Linked DNA regions of Homo sapiens: all the other regions are linked to region 1. Evidence: promoter capture Hi-C in 16 types of primary human blood cells and fetal thymus (Javierre and others, 2016). All regions are on one chromosome and are shown on one strand. The core of a region is centred on a gene start or on the middle of the fragment in contact, and the rest is flanking DNA. Distances in the headings are between cores, read along the strand shown. Region 1 holds the start of SLC36A3 (solute carrier family 36 member 3). Region 2 has its middle 2.1 kb from the start of SLC36A1. Region 3 overlaps TNIP1 (TNFAIP3 interacting protein 1).

Region 1 (2,700 bases), core at 159-2,658:
CCAGAGACATCCTGTCAAAATGTTTAAGTCATGTCATTTCTCTGCTCAGAACCCTCCATGATTTCTCATCTCTCTTAAAGTAAAATCCAAAGTTGTTACAATAGCCTACAAGATCCTGCCCACCCACTCCATCCCGCTTTCATTACCTCTTTAACCACATCTCTGGTGTGACCATGTAATTATCATCCAAACCAGGATATCTCTTTTTATTTTATTTTATTTTTTTTTTGAGATGGAATTTTGTTCTTGTCACCCAGGCTGGAGTGCAATGGTGCGATCTCCGCTCACTGCAACCTCCACCTCCCAGGTTCAAGTGATTCTCCTGCCTCAGCCTCCCAAGTAGCTGGAACTATAGGTACATGCTACCAAGCTCGGCTAATGTTTATATTTTTAGTAGAGATGGGGTTTTACCATGTTGGCCACGCTGGTCTCTAACTCCTGACCTCAGGTGATCTGCCCACCTCGGCCTCCCAAATTGCTGGGATTTTAGGTGTGAGCCACTGAGCGTGGCCTATTTTATTTCATTTTTAGGGTGGTTTCCCAGGCTGGCCTCAATCGATCTTCCCATTTCAGCCTCCCGAGTAGTTGGGTCTACAAGTGTGCACCACCTCGCTCAGCTGCAGGATACTTTTAATAATGAAGGGAGGCACCATTAGTAATTATGCCAGGGCAATAGGCACAAACCAGGCGAATCCATTCTCCTCTGTGTGCTCCCAGATAGCCATATGACCTCATTGCCATTCCTAAAACACCCCAGGCACTCTCCTGCCTCAGGACCTTTGCACTTCTTGCCCCTCTGCTAGGAGTTTCTTACCCAAGACCTACATGAGTTGTGTTCCCTCATCTTGTTCAGCCCTTTGCCCAAATGTCACTTTCTAGGTGAGGCCCTCTCTGATCACCCAATCTAAAATTGCGACCCTCCCCCTAGCTGAAACTCTCCATTACCCTTGCCTGGATTTTCTCTATACCGCTTTTTACTAACAGATACTTGATATATTTGTTTCGTTTATTGTCTGTCTCCCCCAGCCCCTCCAGATTGTAAATTCCATGAGAACAGAGATTGTAGTAAGTTTTCTACCCTAATATATTCCCAGCATGGAGAACAGTTTCTAGCATATATTAGATGCTCAATAAATATTTTCTGAACAAATGATTTTTTTTAAACATGACCTGCACTCCCTTCCAAATCACTGGCAGGCCATACGCCTCCTGTATAGAAATTCTGAGCAGGTGGCATTTGAACTGGGCCTTACAAGCCACTCTTCACCCCAAACAGGGAACATGGTAGCTGGATTATGTTCTGTTGGGCCACATCTGCATCCCAGGATTCTGCTGCAGCTCATTGGCTGGGCAGCCTCCATTGTGAGGTAGCTCTGGTTTTTTCCTTGCCAAAGACAGACAAGCACTGAGCCTGGCCCCACGTCCAGGCACCAGGACCTCCAATCCAATGGTGTCTTCTTCCTCCCAGTCACACTGTTCACTTTGCCCTACAGCAGCAAGGGCTAAACTAGGAGAGGCCAAAAGCCCAGGCAAGTCCTGGTTGGGCAAGCAATTGCGAGTGAAACTGAGGACCATCCTGACTGAGATGGGTCTTTCATAAGTCCCCCAAGAGCCAGGTGAGGCATCATCAACATCAGCCTCTCCTGCCACCACCGCTTCCCTGATTCATGCACTTCAGGCTTCAGCCAGCAGCACGCATCCTTGGGGTTAGGAGCCAGCATCTCAGGTCAGCAGCCATGGTTTCTCTGGAGAAAGACCCATCAGAGGCTCATTCAGAGCCTTAACCCTGAGCCTCTGCCACCTACCCACCGTGTTGAAGATGTCATTGCTTGGAAGGGACTACAACAGTGAGCTGAACTCCTTGGACAACGGACCTCAGTCACCCTCAGAGAGCAGCAGTAGCATTACTTCAGAGAATGTCCATCCTGCTGGAGAAGCTGGACTATCGTAAGTGGCCGCACCGCCCTTCCAGGCCTGAGGTCAAGCACTGCTGTTTTTGCAACTCTGGACTATGTCTTCCTTCATCTATCTCCTTAACACGCTTATTCCATTAACACGATATGCGTGGATAAAAGATGAAACCTTCAGAATCTAAGGAGGTCAATCCCTGTGGCTCTGGCTACTAGCCCTGTTTCCCAGTTTTTACGAAGAACCCAGCTAGAGCAGCCACCCTCAACATGAGCAGCTTGTCTCCAGGAACAGTTTCCTATCTCAGGCTGTCTGCCCTTTCCTTCCTCCCTTTCTTTCTTCCACAGTCTCTGGCTGCCTTCTTCTCCTCACACATCTGCCATTATTCTCTCTGCCTCTTCTCCCCAACCCCCCATGCCATCCATCCAGAAAACAAAAGGTGCTAACCCCATGTCTCCACCTTTACTGCCCCAAACTCAGACACATGGAACTCTTCTCTCTTTTTTTTTAATTAAATTAAATTTAATTTAATTTTAAGTTCCAGGATACATGTACAGGACATGCGGGTTTGTTACATAGGTAAACGTGTGTCATAGTGGTTTTGCTGTACCTATCAACCCATCACCTAGGTATTAAGCCCCATATACCTTAGCTATTTATCCTGATGCTCTCCCATCCCCTGCCCCCCACCCCCAACCAGCCCCAGTGTTTGTCTTGTTCTCCTCCCTGTGTCCATGTGTTCTCATTGTTCAGCTCCCACTTACAAGTGAGAACATGCAGTGTTTGGTTTTC
Region 2 (2,700 bases), core at 167-2,666, 140 kb before region 1:
GGATAGAGCAACTAGAGAGAAAATAAGGAAATAATGAACTTGAATTGCACTTTAAACCAAATGAACCTAACAGATATATACAGAACTTTCCATTCAACAGAAACAGAATACACATTTTTTCTCTAACACACTTGAAACATTCTCTAGAATAGACCATATGCTAGTCCAAAAAACAAGCCTTAAATTTAAGAAGATTGAAATCATATTAATATTCTTTCAGACCATAATAATATGAAGCTAGAAATCAATGACAGGAGGAATCTTGGAAAATTCACAAATATGTGGAAATTAAACAACACGCTTTTTTTTTTCTTTGAGACAAAGTTGCGCTCTTATTGCCCCATCTGGAGTGCAGTGGTGCAATCTTGGCTCACTGCAACCTCTGCCTCCTGGATTCAAGCGATTCTCCTGTCTCAGCCTCCCAAGTAGCTGGGATTACAGGCACGTGCCACCACGCGCGACTAATTTTGTATTTTTAGTAGAGACGAGGTTCACCATGTTGGTCAGGCTGGTCTCAAACTCCTGACCTCAGGTGATCTGCCCACCTCGGCCTCCCAAAGTGCTGAGATTATAGGTGTGAGCCACCATACCCAGTCCTATGCTTCGAAACAACCAGTGGGTCAAAGATGAAATCAAACGGGAAATTTAAAAAATATTTTCAGACAATTGACAATGGAAACATAACATACCAAAGCTTATGGAATGCAGCAAAAGTAGTTCTAAGAGAGAAGTTTATAGCAATAAATGCCTACATTAAAAGAGAAGAAAGAGACCAATTAAATAGTTTAACATTATACCTCAGGAAACTGGAAAAAGAAGAGCTCACAAGACCCAAAGTTAAAAGAAGAAAAGAAAGAGCAGAACAGAAATAAATCAAATAGACAACAGAAAAAAAAACAGACAAAATCAATAAAACTAGAGTTGATTTTTTGGAAAAAATTAAATTGACGTACCCTTTGCTAGTCTAAGAAAAAAAAGAAGACTAATAAAATAAAAAATGAAAGTGAAGACACTACAACAGAAGCTTCAGAAATAAAAAGAATCATATGGGGCTATTGTGAACAATTATTTGCCAACATATTGGATAACCCAGATGAAATGGAGAAATCCCTAGAAAAATACAACCTACCAAGATTGAAATCAGGAAGAAATGGAAAGCCTGAACAGACTAATAACAAATAAAGAGATTGAAGATGAGACAGGGACTATCTGACTTTCTGGTTTTCTGTTTAAACTTCCCAACAAGACCAGATGGCTTCACAGCTGACTTCTACCAAACATTCAAAGAAGAAGGTTTGTTACTAAACTCTTCCAAAAAATGGAGCTAGAGGGAATACTTCCAAACACATTTTATGAGGCCAGCATCACCTTGATACCTAAGCCAGAGAAAGACGCCACAAGAAAAGAAAATTACAGGCTGATTTCGCTAATGCACATTGGTACAAAATCCTCAATAAAATATTTGCAAACAGAATTCAACAACAATCAAAAAAATTATGTATCATGACCAAGTGGGATTTATCCCTGGCATGCAAGGCTGGTTTAACATACACTAATCAAGCAATATAATACATCATATTAACAGGATGAAAAATGAAAACCACATGGTTATCTCAATTGGCCTGGCAAAAGCATTTGACAAAGTCCAACATCTTTTCCTTCCCTAACCCCCACCCCAACATACCTTCTTGATAAAAAAAAACTCTCAATAGTTTAGGTATAGAAAGAACATTCCTCAACATAATAAGGTCGTTTATGAAAAACACACAGTTAACATTTTAATTAATAGGGAAAAACTGAAAGCTTTTCCACCAAGATCCAGTAGCAGTCAAGGATACCCACCCTCACCACTTCTATTCAACATAGTACTGGAAGTACTAGCAAGAGCAATCAGCCAAAAAAGCAAAAGAAAGAAAGGCATCCAAATCAGAAAGAAAAAAGTAAAATTATCTTTATCTGCAGGTGACATCATCCTATATGTAGAAAACCCCAAAGATTAAAAAAATACTGTTATAATTCATGAATTTAGTAAATTTTCAGGACATAAAAATCAACATACATGACTGGGCTCAGTGGCTCATGCCTGTAATCCCAGCACTTTGGGAGGCCAGGGCAGTGGGTCACCTGAGGTCAGGAGTTCAAGACTAGCTTGGCCAACATGGTGAAACCCTGTCTCTACTAAAAATACAAAAGTCAGCCCAGCATGGTGGTGCATGCCTGTAGTCCAAGCTACTTGAGAGGCTGAGGCAGGAGAATTGTTTGAACCTGGGAGGCGGAGGTTGCAGTGAGCTGAGATCGCGCCCCTTCAGCCTGGGTGACAGAGTGAGACTCCATCTCAAAAAAAAATTAAAAAATCAATAATATTTTTATACACAAATAATTACCTACCTAAAAAAGAAATAAAGAGAATGATTTTATTTGTGATAGCATTAAAAAATACTCAATAATCAATTTAACCAAGGACATGAATAGGGTGTACACTGAAAACTATAAAACAATGATTAAATAAATTGAAGAAGACACAAATAAATGAAAAGATATCCCATGCACATGGATCAGAAGAATTAACATTGTGGAAATGTCCATACTATCCAAAGCAATATACAGATTCAATGCAATCCCTATCAAAATCCCAACGGCATTCTTTACTGAGATATAAGAAACAATCCTAAAATTTGCATGAGACCACAAAAGACCCTG
Region 3 (2,700 bases), core at 186-2,685, 250 kb after region 1:
TGTGTGTGGGTTCAGGCAGGGTAAAGTGGGGAGCCCAACTGGATGCTGCTGTGGATGGGACCTGCGGCTGTAGGGCCTTAGATGCCCAGCAGGGGAGCTGGGCCCAGTGCCGTCTGCAGTAGGGTAACACTGCAGGTCCTTGGGAGTGGAATTGGTGTAACAAAGGCAATGTCTTTGGTAGGAGTATTCCAGATAGACTAGAGAGAAAGAGTCAACTATCTGGCCCACGGTGTGCTTTATTTCTTACATACTGTACTAGTTTGGGACTTTCTGAAATAGCTAAAGCTGTGGTTCCTTAAACTGTTTTGAGTCTTGGGTCCTCAGAAGCTGATGAATGCTTGGGCCATTCCCCAGAAGACACATGTGTAGGCCAGGCATGGTGGCTTACGCCTGTAATCTCAGTACTTTGGGAGGCCGAGGTGGGTGGATCACCTGAGGTCAGGAGTTCAAGACCAGCCTGGCCATTGTGGTGAAACCCCGTCTCAACTAAAAATACAAAAATTAGCTTGGTGTAGTGGTGCACACCTGTAATCCCAGCTCCTCAGGAGCCTGAGGCAGGAGAATCGCTTGAACCCAGGAGGCGGAGGTTGCAGGACGTATATGCAGATGTCCCTTGGTAAACATGGGAGAGTGGTTCCAGAACTCCCTGAGGATACCCAAAATCCATGGATGCTCAAGTCCCTGATGTAAAATGGCGTAGTAGTTCCCTATAACCTATACACATCCTCCTATATACTTTAAATCATCTCTAGATTACTTACGATACCTAATACAATGTAAATGCTAAATTTTGGTATACTGTATTGTTTAGGGAATAATGACAAGAAAAAAATTCTGTACATGTTCAATACAGTTTTTTGTTTGTTTGTTTTGGGACGGAATCTTGCTCTGTTGCCCAGGCTGGAGTGCTGTGGTGCGATCTCTGCTCACTGCAACCTCCGACTCCCTGGTTCAAATAGTTCTCCTGCCTCAGCCTCCCAAGTAGCTGGGATTACAGGCACGTGCCACCATGCCCAGCTAATTTTTGTATTTTTAGTAGAGACAGGGTTTCACCACTCAGGCCGTCTTGATCTCCTGACCTTGTGATCTGCCCGCTCAGCCTCCCAAAGTGGTGGGATTACAGGCGTGAGCCATCGCGCCCGGCCAGTTTGTTTTTTTAGAAGATTTTTGATCTGCAGTTGGTTGAATCCATGGATGCGGAACCCATGGATATGGAGGGCTGACTGTGCAGTGATGTCCCTTTTCTGGGCTTGTTACTGTCAGGGGTCAATTCATCCTCCTAAGAACCCTGTGAGGTTGAAGGGAGGGAAGGGTTGTGCGGACATTTGGTAGATGAGGATGCTGAGGTCCAGCAGACAAGTGACTTACTGTCAGGCACTCTGCAAGGCCCAGTGTGTGGGAGGATGGTGGCCCCGCTGCTGTGGAGCCACCAGTGGCCTGTGAGTCCTGGGTTCTGCCCTGTGAGTCAGCCCCAGACAGGGAACCTGCATAACTGGAGAATTTCCCGGGGCTGAGCTGGGGTCACAGGGGGAAACTGAGTCATGAGAAATGAGGAAGCAGAGGGAGAATGGACTGGCGGCGCCTACTCAGGCCTTGGTGAAGAGTGGGCCGTGTGCCCTTTCCCTCTCCAGGCGCTGGGCCCCCTGCCCCGTGAGGACGGCAACCTGATGCTGCACCTGCAGCGCCTGGAGACCACGCTGAGTGTGTGTGCCGAGGAGCCGGACCACGGCCAGCTCTTCACCCACCTGGGCCGCATGGCCCTGGAGTTCAACCGACTGGCATCCAAGGTGCACAAGAATGAGCAGCGCACCTCCATTCTGCAGGTGAGGCGCGTGGGGAGGGCAGCCCGAGACAGGCAGGCGTGCTTCCCCCCGAGCTCTTCCCACCTTCCTGCTCCTGGGAATCCACTGGTACCATGGGGACTTCTGAAGGCTGTGTTGTGGGCAGACTTCGGGCTTTTTGTTCAGGGTGATGAACAGGATAAGGAAGTTGTGGGGAGGGATGAGGAAGAGGAAGGAAATGGGGAAATACGGGATGGGCAATGCGAGTGTCATGGTTGGGGATACCCCCAGCAGCCCTGCCTTTATTTCTCATGTGCAGGGTTGGGGGATGGGAAGGGAGGGAACAAAGGTCAACTCCTTTCATAATGCCTCTTTCCCCCCAGGGTAGGCACCCTCATTATCACCACTTCACAGGTGGGGAAGCAGCCCTTTTTTTGCCCAAGGTCACCCAGCTGGTAAATGGTGAAGTAGGGATTGGAACCTCGATCTCTCGCATTCCAAAGCCCATACTCTTGACCACCATCCCAACCTGCCTCCCCTATTGAATTCCTTTTGAAAGCCTCCCTGTGCTGTGGGGAATGGACAGATTTCCTTGCTAGGCCAGGCCAGACCTTGGAGTTATATGGTCCTTGGTTCCAGTAGTGACCCTTTATTGCTGTATGACCTTGGACAAGTCACTTATCCTCTCTATCCCCCAATGTTCCTATCAGTAACATGAGCTAGAAGTGCCTCCATGGTTAGATTGCTGCATTAAATGAGGCCATGTACATGAAGCACCCAGTGCAGTCCAGAACCTAGTCCATGCTGGAAGAGAGGTCCCCATTCGGAGTTCATGACGGGCATCCACACTGGGCAGGGGGTCTTAGCCTTGTGGGCTTTAGCAGCGGGGAAGTGTTCAGTTATAATTGGTGACCATTCT

The links. The method cuts DNA at HindIII sites, captures the fragments that hold promoters and counts their contacts. A CHiCAGO score of 5 or more calls a contact.
Region 2: a fragment that was not itself captured here is called in contact with the fragment with the promoter of SLC36A3 in region 1 in 1 of 17 cell types (M2 macrophages); the score reaches 5.6 in M2 macrophages.
Region 3: a contact is called between a fragment that was not itself captured here and the fragment with the promoter of SLC36A3 in region 1, in 1 of 17 cell types (total B cells). The highest score is 8.8, in total B cells.

What each region holds. Positions count from the first base shown.
Region 1 is chr5:151,302,474-151,305,173 of GRCh38, reverse strand. SLC36A3 (solute carrier family 36 member 3) reads left to right here and starts at 1,408. Exons shown (of 10, transcript NM_181774.4): 1 at 1,408-1,947. The coding sequence starts at 1,820. The HindIII fragment of the contact is 21,144 bases long and covers 1-2,700 here.
Region 2 is chr5:151,444,146-151,446,845 of GRCh38, reverse strand. It overlaps a transcript of SLC36A1 not described here. Among named protein-coding and RNA genes, the nearest start is that of SLC36A1, 2.1 kb to the left of the region's middle. The HindIII fragment of the contact is 779 bases long and covers 1,027-1,805 here.
Region 3 is chr5:151,055,889-151,058,588 of GRCh38, reverse strand. TNIP1 (TNFAIP3 interacting protein 1) reads left to right here. Exons shown (of 18, transcript NM_006058.5): 6 at 1,632-1,823. Among named protein-coding and RNA genes, the nearest start is that of TNIP1, 24 kb to the left of the region's middle. RefSeq lists an enhancer at 1,758-2,284. The HindIII fragment of the contact is 3,905 bases long and covers 1-2,700 here.